Linked DNA regions of Homo sapiens: regions 2, 3 and 4 are each linked to region 1. Evidence: promoter capture Hi-C in 16 types of primary human blood cells and fetal thymus (Javierre and others, 2016). All regions are on one chromosome and are shown on one strand. Each heading gives the region's core, a stretch centred on a gene start or on the middle of the fragment in contact. The rest is flanking DNA. Distances are from core to core; before and after follow the strand shown. Region 1 holds the start of ZNF329 (zinc finger protein 329). Region 2 holds the start of ZNF530 (zinc finger protein 530). Region 3 holds the start of ZNF550 (zinc finger protein 550). Region 4 overlaps ZNF134 (zinc finger protein 134).

Region 1 (2,830 bases), core at 131-2,630:
AGGTCTGTTAATGAGGTTTTTGTATTTTCTTCATGAAGATCCTTTATTGCTTTTGCTAATTGATTTCCAAGTTGCTCCAACCATCACTATTGTGAGTGACAATTTAATCACTATTATGGCTTAGAATTTTTTTTCTAATTTTCATTTCAAAATTGTGAAGTATTTCAACCTGCGGAGAGGTTCGGAGAGTAATAGAATAATCTATAAATAATAAAGATGACACCCATGTATCATCGAGATTTTACCTGTGTTAACATGTAGTCAGATTTTCAGGTTTTGATTTGTTTTTTCCTATCAAGCATCACAGGTGTAACTGAGGTCTCCTTTGTCTCCTCCCCAACTCTTTCCCCTCAGTTGCCACTTTCTTGAGGTTGGACAATCTATCTGGTCCATGTTATTGTTACTTTACTACTTATGTATCAATCTCTGTATAACATATAGATTTTGTGTCTTTTATTTCCAGGTAAGTTGTATCATGTGGATAAGTGCACAGTTTACTTTTCGAACTGTTTTTGGAGAACTGTCTATCTTGTATATAAGTTAGTCCTTTTTTTTTTTTTTTTTTTTGAGACGAAGTCTCCCTCTTGTCCCCCAGGCTGGAGTGTGATGGTACGATCTCAGCTCACTGCAACCTCCGCCTCCCAGGTTCAAGTGATTCTCTTGCCTCAGCCTCCCGAGGAGCTGGGATTACAGGCGCCTGCCACCACGCCTAGCTAATTTTTGTATTTTTAGTGGAGACGGGGTTTCACCATGTTGGCCAGGCTGGTCTCAAACTCCTGACCTTAGGTGAGCCCAGTCCGTTTGTTTTAACCACCCCCTATTGCTCCGTTGCACATACCACAGTTTCTCTCTTCCCTGTCAGTAAATATTTAGGCTTCCCCATGCTAAAGTTTAAGAGAACCACTGAAAGAATGAAAATGTGTAGTTTTCATTTTCAACCGGCTATTGTTACTACAGAGGAAAGTTACTGGCTTTGTTTACATTTCTTAGATCTAGTCATTTTAACAAATTAGGCCTCCCAAAATGCTGGGATTACAGGCGTGAGCCACGCACCCAGTAAATAATTATATTGCCAATGAATAATGAGTGTACTTATTCTGAATTTTAACATTATTATCTCAAAAAAAGATTATAGATAAAGAAATATTTTAGGAAATTATGCAGTAAATAAAAGGAAGGCTCTATAACAAAAGAATGATAGCATCGGGTTAAAAATCAGAGGAGACCATAGGAGAAAGTAAATGCCTGCGCGTCCGCCCCGAGGCAAGTCCACGCCAGGGTAATGAATAACCCGGTACCCGCGGCCGCCCCAGCGTTGGGCGGGGGAAGCTCGGGGACTCCGCGCACGCGCACATCCTTGTCCCGGCAGCCGCGCAAGCGCAATCGCCCGGAACATGGCTGCCGCCGGCCGCCAACCGTAAGTGCCGACGCATCCCTGAGCCCTGCGCTGCCTCCGTTTCCTGCGGAGGGAAGTCTTGGCGGGTGGAGGTCCGCCGGGTCCTTGTGGGGCGGCGAGGGGCGCGTCCGCGGGTGGGTTTCACCTGGGTGGTGGGCATGTCGGGCCCGCTAGGGCGAGGGTCTGGCCAGGGGCGTAGTTCTCCTGGTGGGTGGGGACGCTCCGTGGCGATTGGGGTCACTCCTCTGAGGACGAGGTCGCTCCGGGGCTGGTCTGGACGCCCCCGCTCTTTCCTTAGCGTCACCCGTGAGTTCCGCGCTCGCATCTCTAGCCCGCCCTCCCATAGAGACTGTTTTGCCACGCCTGCTGGGTGTCCTGGTCCGTCTCCGGGGGTAACCCCCGAGTCTGCAGCTTTTCTGTCAGGTGTGAGGGGCAGTGTAGGCTTGGGTCGGCCTCCGGCTGAATTGGCGGCCGTGAGCCAGTGGGCTGAGCCGCTTCCCCTTGAGTCTCGAAGGTGTTAGATCACCTGTGTGTTTTTCCATTTGATATTTGCAAAATCATGTTTTACTGCAATTCTCAGTGAGGGCCGCATTTTTGCACGTGTTTAGTGACCATTTTGCTGTCTTTTCCCTTGGTTTAGTGGCATATTTCCTTTGTGCAGTCTTCCAGTCTCAATATTTTATGACATAAAATGTTGGTTTAGATAGAGAAGCTGAAAGACTTGTGCAGTGAACGACCCGGTTAACGTCTGCTGAACTTACTGTATCCCTTATCTTTCCTTCTGTCCATCCTTTCAGCCATTCATTAATCCACCTATTTTTGGAAACATTTCAAAGTAAGTTGCAGATATCACAACACTTCTCCCTCAAACACCTCACTATGCTTACCATGAATTAGAGTTCAGTAGTGCTTTTTTAAATTTTTTGAGCCAAAATTGACTTTCAGTGAAATGCACAGATATTCCCTGTACCATTGATGAATTTTGACAAATGCAACCTAAACCTTTATTAAAATTACCATCAGCCTGAAAAGGTCCTTTATTTTTTGCCAAGTTAAAAAATTTGGCTATAGGAACTTGGGCTTGTTGAAGTACGTTTTGAATACCCAGTTTTTGTCTGTTTTTTCTTTTTTCCCACAGCAAGTGACTTTCCTCCATTCTACTGCTTGTTTACCTCTCTCTTCACCCAACTTTTCATTTTGAAAAGTTCCGCATTTGCATAGAAGTTGCAGGAATAGTTTAACACTTCTAAAACCATCCAGATTCTAAAATTATTAACACTTTTTGCCACATTAGCTTTATCTTTATCTTCTCCCTGCCTGAGACACATGCATAGGTGTTACCAGAAAGGGGGTCCCGAGCTATAACCCAACAGAGGGTTCTTATATCTTGGGAAAGAAAATTCAGGGCGAGTCCATAGAGTAAAGTGAAAGCAA
Region 2 (2,862 bases), core at 291-2,790, 550 kb after region 1:
CTAAACTCAAAAAGCCTTGAGTCACCCCTTCTTATCTCTCAGTCCCAATACCAGAAAATCAGAGCCGACCTACAATCCAAAATTCAACCATTTCTGCCACACTGTGGCCACTACTCTGGCCCACATCATCTACACTCACCTGGACTATTGCAGTAGTCTCCTCTTTCCTCTTTGGTATTGCTACCAACTCCCTTAAACCCACAGTCTGTTGTCTGTGCTCAGCCACAGGAGCCTCATGAGGCCTGGGGAAGATCACCTCCCTCTTCTGCTCCAAATCTTCATTGCTGCCATCATCTCCAGAACAAAGACATCTGAGACAGCCATTTAGTTTCTAACTCCTGTACCTCTGCTCTCTGTTCCCATGAGAAGGAAATGAGACTTGAGGTTCTCTTAACCAGCTCAGCCTCACCTCCAAGCAGCTCCAAACACCTGTACTTATCTCTGGGACAAACTTCCACATTCATCCTATTATTTGCCAGCAACAGGCACCACCTCATATAATACTCACCCTGGACATATTTTTGTTCAGAGTCCCTAGGCTCAAGGCCTGGAAAAGCGGTAAGTAAAGAATCCCAGGTCACCACAGTCCCAATCCTAGAGATCCCATTGCTGGAATCAATGAGCTTCTGGATTTCCTCCACTTACCCTTGTAGGGTCTTCAAGTGCTTCTTACGGACCTGTAAGTACTAGTGGCAATCTGTGGGAGGAAACATGTTCTGAGAGGCAGGTGACCAAAGTGTGGCTCCATGGACTTCTGGTTCCAATGTGGAACACCAGAGCCAGGTGTCCAGGGATGACTGCTTTGTATCTGGGTGTCAGTCCTTGGTGCTGACTTTTACCAGCTTTGTGACCTCGTAAAAAGACTAGGTCCCTCCATGCCTGCTATCATCACTGCCCTTCCAGCGCGTTCCTCTGAACAGCTTTTGTGAAACTTTTAGAAGCGTGACTGGGGCCGTGCCCCTCTTCTGTCCTACGCGCTGTGGCCCTCAGTGTGCTGGTGAAACTCAGTGGGGCCAATGCAGCGCGGCGCTGCCCCACCCTCTGCTACCTGCACGCGTGAGGCCGGCCTGGGTCTCCCCAGCCTCCCGGCTCAGGCGCAGCTCCAAGCTGTTGCCCGCGCAGCCCCCTGACCGTGTCGCTCTCCCGCTCCCTGCCACACTACCAGAAACGAGATCCAGCACCAGCGCCTCACTGTGCCGGACAGTGCGGTCCGGGCTGCAGAAAACCCTTCACGCGTCCCTCAGTTTCGGGTGGGGAGGGCAGAGGAGGCCGGGAGGACGCAGCGCTCACCTGGGTCGGGGCCCTCAGTGCCGCCGCCATCGGACTCTGGGCGGAGCGGGCCGGGAGCGGTGGACGATCCGGGCGGAGACAAGAGCAAAGCTGTCACCACCGCCGGCGACCGTCAGGCCCCGGCTGTGCAGCTGAGAAAACGACTCTCCTCGCGCCTTCTCGCTGTCAGCACCTAGGTCCAGATCCGGCACCCGCGGATGGAACTGACACAAGCCAAAGTGCCCGCCACAGGGAGGACGCCGGAAGTTCCGCTCCGACAAGTTGGACAGAGCGGAAATGTCCCTCCCCTGAGCCTCATTGGCTCCACGCCAAGAACCTGGCTCACGGGCCTCTGGGTAATGTAGTTCTCACCGCTTCTTGGGCTGGCAGAGGTCGCCCTTCTCCTGGACCTCAGGGAGGAATGACCCCGTTGCTATGGAGAAAGGTGGAGGGGAAGGCTGAGAGGTGGTGTCTCCAGCCTCCTTGGACAAGGGAGGAGCTTCGCTGCTTTTTTAAGGTACCATACAGAGATTTTTGGAGGGTATTGTGTACAACTAGTCACCTAGGTAGTCAGAGTTATTCAGATACAAAATGCCTCTACCCTTGGCGAGAGCCTAGTAAACATTACCTTCTTTCTCCACACATTTATGTAAAGTAGAACGTTAGAGTCAGCTTTGTGAGTTTCATTATGCTCAGTAAGGAATAAGGGAAATAGAGTTTACATAGCGCCATGACAGGAATGATAAAACATCCGTTAGATCGCACCGAAGCTGGAGGACGAAAGAGGAATTTTGTCTCACAGAAAATGCCTCTCCTGCCTGTGTAATCGGTGAGTGTGTCTAGCCCTGTAAGGAACAGTGTTGTATTCATATAATATTTCTTCCTCCATATTCTTAGATATGCTTCTTTTAGGATTGTAGCAACTTTCTAAACAGAAGAGCCACTTAGCATATGCCATTTTAAAGTAGAACAGTGTCTGTAGTGTTCACAGTCAGAGCACTTGTGCAAAGGGGACATCAGAATACCAGAATAAAGGTTTGGGACACCTAGCTTTCATCTCTTTGATGGGAAATTTTGATCATTGATACTGTTACTGCAGGGACAGTGCTTGCATGGGGAGTTGAGATCATCTTAGAAAAACAGTTGTGAAATGAAAATTACTGAAACCTATTGTATTAGTCAGGATTCTCCAGAGAAACACAGAACCAATAGGATACATAGATGTACAAGAGGGGATTTATTATGGGACTTGGCTCATCCAGTTATGGAGGCTAAGAAGTCCCAGGATATACCTTTTGCAACCTGGTAAGACACGAAGGTGGGTGGTATCATTCAGTCTGCATCTGAAGGCCTGAAAACCAAGGGAGCCTATGGTGAAATTCCCAGTTGGAGGCTGAAGGCCTGAGAACTGGGTGAGGGTCATTCTTGTATGTTCCAGAGTCCAAAGGCCCAAGATCCAAGAACTTTAATGTTGGAAAACAGAAGGTGGATGATCCAGGGCAAGAAGAGAGTAACTTGCTCTTTCTCTGCCTTTTTGTTCTATCTTGGCTCTCAAAGCATTGGATGTTGGCCCCTAACACTGATGAGGCCAGA
Region 3 (2,720 bases), core at 47-2,546, 590 kb after region 1:
ATAAAAACAAGAACTAGGCAAAGAAACCATAGGATAACAGAAAACCCAAAATAAGAGAAAGAATGGCCAAAATCCCAGTCAGGATGACATGTCCATGACTCTTCTGGGCAAAGCCAAATAAGAGAGAAAGGGGGCAGTAACCAGGTGGGTCCCTGAATTTCCCTCCTTTTCCAGAATACCTAATAATTATTCCACTCTCTAATTAAAGAAACACCCACAAAATAGGAATGCTGTGTGGTCACAGGAGAAGGGGGAAAACATCAAGCTGTTAAAATTAGCTACTCCAACAAGAAGACTGGGCTGATGAGACCTTAACAAACAGGATTGGGGCTAGGCTGTCCCATGACGCTAGATTTGACCCATTTCCTACCCCAGACCTAATTATACACTCATTGCCACATTAAATCACACACCCACCAGTGCCAGGCCAATCCAAGCACGCCCACATTTAGTATAAAAATGGTTGGCACCCCAATTCTAAGAAATTCCCACCTTTTCCTAGAAAAACCTCATGATTATCCCACCCCCTAATTAGAAGAGCCCATAAAATTAGAAACCCAAACTCCATTGTGCATGACCCGCTCTCCCTCGTACGTCCGCATTTCCCTCTTCTCTTGGGAAAAGTACACTCTTCTCAAAAATGTGTACTTTTTCTTCCCAATAAAAGCTTCTTGCCTTTGGCTTCATTTTGACTCATCCCTGCATTCTTTCTCACGATGGTGTCACGAAGCTGGACTCCGGAAGCGGGCGGGGACTCACGGCCCCTGGAGACCTTCCTGAGCCCTGGGCAACACCAGTCCACACAGAGGAGGCAGACGTCCCACAGACGGAACCCCACGAGCATGTCCCGGGAATGGCTCCACGCGGGAAGCGGGGGTCCAGATCCACGCCAGTCCCAGGGACAGTGCCTGGCGTCAGGGTGGAGGAGGACGCAGTAACCAGGCGTAAGATTTTACTGGTACATGGGAATGTCACTGGGTCACTCAGAGGAGGCAAGCGGGGAACCTCGTGGCAGGGCCCCCTTTATCAAACTCGTTTACCTGGGTGCCTGGGCGAGTGCTCACAGCCTGCTTGTAGGGACGTTGAGGCATCCGAATAATAGGAAGTTTTAAAAATTTACAATCCAGTGTGTACACTTGCTCCGCTAAGATCATCTGAGATATACAGAAACATGGTGTGCATAATAAAAAAGGAAAAAGAGCCAAGCCTGGCCTCTTACGGGACAAGACTACATTACCTAGAAGGCAGTGGGCCGGCGCAGGAAAAGGCGTGGCAGGCGACCGCGACACAGGGGCGGGACTTCCGGCCTCGCTGGCGTGGACGTTTGTGGTGGGGCGTGTTGGTCCGCGCTCTCAGAACTGTGCTGGGAAGGATGGTAGGGCGACTGGGGCTCACCTCCGCACCGTTGTAGGACCCGGGGTAGGGTTTTGAGCCCGTGGGAGCTGCCCCACGCGGCCTCGTCCTGCCAACGGTCGGATGGCGGAGACGAAGGACGCAGCGCAGGTGAGCAGACTGGCTCGGCTCCCCGCGGCCACCCGGCCTCAGTGTCCCGGGCCCGACGAGCGGAAGGACGGCGTTTCAGGGTCGTCCTCAGTGCAGTCCCTGCCGTTGCTTCTTAGAGGCCTAGAAGGGGGTCGCGCGGTCCCGGGTCCGGAATGCAGGCCCGCGGTGGCGTGGGGAGCGTCCCCGTTTCTGGGGTGCGCGGCGTTGTGGTATGAAATAGGGCTTTTAGGGTCCCGGAACCCCTCACAGGTGAGAGGAGCGACCGCAGTCCTCCTCGTGGCTCTTCCAACCATGTCCTTTCTCGGGCCTGCGACCTTGAACAAGTCCCGTTACTGTCCTCGTCCTTCATTTTTGCGCGCGCAAAGTAGAAATATTTACTCTTCCCCCCCCCGGGGTTGAGGAAGCTTGAACGGCTCCCTGGGTGATGTGTGTGTGTCCGTCTCAGTGCACAGCACGGTCCGGGGACGTCGCTCAGGATGTTGTTTCCGGAGCTGCTCCCTGGGCCTGTGCTAGGTTTGGAGACTCAACCCCAGCAGGAGTCTGACCCTCTGGCCTCCTTGGCCTCCTGTCTCTACAACACGAAGGGCAGCGGCTGAAAGAGGTGGGAGGAGCGTTTCTGCGGTTGCTGCTATGCCAGGGCAGAAAAGGTGGTAGGGCAGGCTGAGGAATTTGTCTTTCAGTTTAGGGCAAGGGACGCTGGGTTGCAACTAACAGTATATTTTCCTGTTTAAGACATTTAGTTACAGGTGAAAAACGAGTCCATTAAAATGTTCAGTGGCGATGGTATGCAGGATGTAGTGTCCCTTTGGAGATAACACATGAGGCCCAGGGTTACTCTCTAGCAGTCACTCTGATTACTTTCATGATAGCCCAGATTACTGTCAGCTCCTGTCGTAGTTGTTAATTTCTCATCCACCTCTCCCTCCTTTGCTTTATTTCTGACTCCCTCTGGTGTCCGCTGCTTAAAGAGGTCTCGTCTGTTGCACCGTTTAAAGCTGACCAGAGTCTCTTTGGTCTCCTTGCTCTGTTTTCTTGTCATCTGAATCTTTAAGGCCATCTGACATTGCCTTACTCATTTATTTAGTTGCCTGTTTAGGATCTTTTTCCAACCCTGGAATGTGAGTGCCTGTTGCTTCCCTCTCCCAAGACCCAGAACAGCCAGGCTTAAGTACATTTATTGTACTTAATAAATGGTTGATGATTGAATAGGCCTCTCT
Region 4 (2,814 bases), core at 145-2,644, 530 kb after region 1:
CAACTTAATCCTCTGCAATGACTTTTAGCAGGACCTTGGCTGACTGTGGGTGACAGGTGACTCCTATGCGAAATGTGAGTACAGGCCCAGGAAAATGTGATTAAAAATAAGTAACGTGTTCAGGGACTATTTACAGATATGCACACATCTTATGACACAATAGTGTAAGTGTAGTACAATATTGGAAAGCATCGCAGAGAGAGCTATTGCTCTACTAGAGCCCCTCTGGTAGAGAATGGGAGAAGACAGCCCTGGGTCAGAAGTCAGATTAGAAATGACAAGAGTGTACAGAATGGGGATAAAAAGGTAGAAATAAGTTAGGGCCTCTGGCCTTGGCACTTGTGATGGGCACAACATAGGTTTCCGGAACTACAGGAACCCAGCCCTGAGGTTATGGCGTCCCTCAGCTCCCACTCACCAGGGCCTGTCCAAGCCCCTCCTGCTGTGACTAGAGTCATGCCCTCTCAGGCAGCCAGAGTTCTCTCTCTTGTTACAATTCAACAACCACAGAGGATCTGGAAGATACAAAGCATAGGGGAAAGGTGAAACAGGCTGAGAGCACTAGCCAGAGTAGCCCACCCATGCAAAATTGCAAGAAAACAAATGCTACAAAATGAACCTCAGAAAATTGTCCTGCAGGAACAGTGCAGTGGGCCCACAAGTGGTGACCATGATGACTGAAATTGAGGACACAGGCAGACTCAAGGAAATTACAATTAGAGGAAGCGGGTGGAGCCTGGAGTCCAGAGGTGTCATGAGTGTGGACAGTCACCTGGCCAGGGAGAGGCCAAGCAGAATTCACTGGGTCACCTTAGGACCCCTGACCTCCAAACCCTTCCTGGCAAGGCTTCAGGGCAGCAGGAGTTGAGGAACACAGGGAAGAGAGGGGCCAATGCATCTAGCTGAGCCTAGGCACCCAGGGGACCTATGTGAGGGAATCAGAGAAGAGAGCAGTACCCATGCTCTAGCTATGGAAAGGAAAGAGCAACCCCTAGGGCAAAAAGGAAGAGTAGGACCCAGCCCAGAAAAATGGGATACTGGGGCCTTACCCAGGGAGACTATAAATGCGAAGCACAGAAGCCATTATTTCATAATAGAAGAGTCTCTGAGCCTCATCCAGCAGCTCCCATTCCTCCTAAGAGAAGTAAACAAATAAATCCTTGAAGGTCACATAGCCCTGTGTGAGGTGGACAACTGAGCTTAAGGACAGCCTCTCTCTCCAGGACTCCTTGTCACATCTAACTCAAATGAGATAACAGGCCCTGGTGTGATTGGTGCCTGTTCTCGACTCATATTCCATTAATCATTTTGTCCAGCTCAGAACAGGCAAGTGGACAGATAAAACACCATGGGCCTGGTATGTAGGACCCAACCCTTCTCCTATCAGCCAGCTCCCTGGGGATCAACAGATTATTCCTCATACACAAACCTGAGCTAAGCATTCTTTCAGAAACCCTCCATACCAAAGCTCTGGGCTCATGAATTCACACTCCATCTCCATGTGCACATCACCCTTTTGGCTATACCTCCTTTACATCTATGGACACCCACAACACTGGTACCTCCATGGCTTCCCCACATGCAAATCTGCACACAGCATCCAGAGAATGCTTGGATAATGCATCCAGGATTACATCTGGTCCTGATCAACGGCCACACTGCCATGGGTTGCCCTGAATCCACCTATTAAATCTTCCCCTCCTGGCTCTATTTCATGGGTCAATTCAGCAATCCAGAACCATGTGCAGATCCCAGATAAACTCAGCCCTTTTCTGCTTTGTTGTTGTACTACTGAGGTCAGTCACAGGCTTCTCAACATTTAACTCATTCAAAACCTACACTCACTGGGCACCTACCCCAAGCACAGGGATTCTGCCTACTGACCCAATCTGTCCCTGGGCTAATTCACTAGCTTGACTGAAACTCCACAGGTCCCACCAAAGGTCACCATGGAAGCCTGAGGAGCACATAAAGAGCTGAATAAGCACTGGCTCTGGCCTCACTGCCACCTCACTTCTATTACTACAGTACTTCACCTCACATCCACTCTCTGCCTGGAACGCTTTGCCACCTGCCTGACCCTATTATTCCCCTTCCTCCCAGGGACATTTCCCTCCCTCTTCTAGACTCTAAGATGGCCCCTACCTCTACCCTGCTGTGTCTGCCCTTACAGTGTGCTGATGGCACTGTCACCATGACCTAAAGATTCTCTCTCTAAATTGGAAGCAAAGCTCCATCCTGATCCACATGCTGGCTGCCACCCTGTGGATAGCTCCAACCTGAATCCCTTCTCTGAACTTCAGATCTCTGTGTCCAGCTGTCTACTTGACACCTCCACTCAAGTGTCTTTGGAACATGGTAGATTCCACATAGCCAAACTGCACTCCTGATATTACCTCTGAAAGGTACTCCTACCACCAACTTTGTCACTTCAGTTGATGGCATCTTTATATCTTCTCAGACTAAAAAATCCAGGGTCTTCCTTCACCCCTTGCCTTTTCTTTCTCATCTTCCACATCAGAAAATCTGGTTGGTCCCACTTTAAGAAAAATGATTCAGAATCCATCCACATCTCCCACCTCTACAGCGACCACTCTGGTCCAACCTGAACTGTTGCATTAAGCTCCTCAGTGGTATTCCTTCCTTCATCCTCACTCCCACAGTCTTTTTTCACTGTACAGAGGAAGTTGGTTAAGACCAAAGTCAGATCACTCCCTCCTAGCTCCAAACCTGCAGTGGCTCCCAATTCTCTCAGCATACAAACCCAGATCCTCAGGCTGCCATTTCTGGGCTGAATCCTGTCCCTGCTGTCTG

The links. The method cuts DNA at HindIII sites, captures the fragments that hold promoters and counts their contacts. A CHiCAGO score of 5 or more calls a contact.
Region 2: the fragment with the promoter of ZNF530 here is called in contact with the fragment with the promoter of ZNF329 in region 1 in 17 of 17 cell types (activated CD4 T cells, non-activated CD4 T cells, total CD8 T cells and 14 more); the score reaches 14.7 in activated CD4 T cells.
Region 3: the fragment with the promoter of ZNF550 here is called in contact with the fragment with the promoter of ZNF329 in region 1 in 13 of 17 cell types (total CD8 T cells, naive CD4 T cells, non-activated CD4 T cells and 10 more); the score reaches 13.7 in total CD8 T cells.
Region 4: a fragment that was not itself captured here is called in contact with the fragment with the promoter of ZNF329 in region 1 in 2 of 17 cell types (naive CD4 T cells and non-activated CD4 T cells); the score reaches 5.2 in naive CD4 T cells.

What each region holds. Positions count from the first base shown.
Region 1 is chr19:58,149,339-58,152,168 of GRCh38, reverse strand. It overlaps ZNF329 (zinc finger protein 329), which reads left to right and starts at 1,380. Exons shown (of 4, transcript NM_024620.4): 1 at 1,380-1,417. RefSeq lists an enhancer at 1,244-1,303. The HindIII fragment of the contact is 7,703 bases long and covers 1-2,830 here.
Region 2 is chr19:57,598,563-57,601,424 of GRCh38, reverse strand. ZNF530 (zinc finger protein 530) reads right to left here and starts at 1,540. Exons shown (of 4, transcript NM_001321981.2): 1 at 1,291-1,540; 2 at 646-697. RefSeq lists enhancers at 1,073-1,192, 1,283-1,492. The HindIII fragment of the contact is 5,329 bases long and covers 1-2,862 here.
Region 3 is chr19:57,558,439-57,561,158 of GRCh38, reverse strand. It overlaps ZNF550 (zinc finger protein 550), which reads left to right and starts at 1,296. Exons shown (of 4, transcript NM_001397372.1): 1 at 1,296-1,503. The coding sequence starts at 1,477. LOC124904781 (a long non-coding RNA gene) reads right to left here and starts at 1,217. Exons shown (of 2, transcript XR_007067357.1): 1 at 1,041-1,217. RefSeq lists enhancers at 935-1,044, 1-1,188, 1,675-1,724, 1,166-2,030, 2,175-2,254. The HindIII fragment of the contact is 1,240 bases long and covers 670-1,909 here.
Region 4 is chr19:57,617,113-57,619,926 of GRCh38, reverse strand. It overlaps ZNF134 (zinc finger protein 134), which reads right to left. Exons shown (of 3, transcript NM_003435.5): 2 at 419-515. The coding sequence starts at 458. Among named protein-coding and RNA genes, the nearest start is that of ZNF134, 4.3 kb to the right of the region's middle. The HindIII fragment of the contact is 4,269 bases long and covers 1-2,814 here.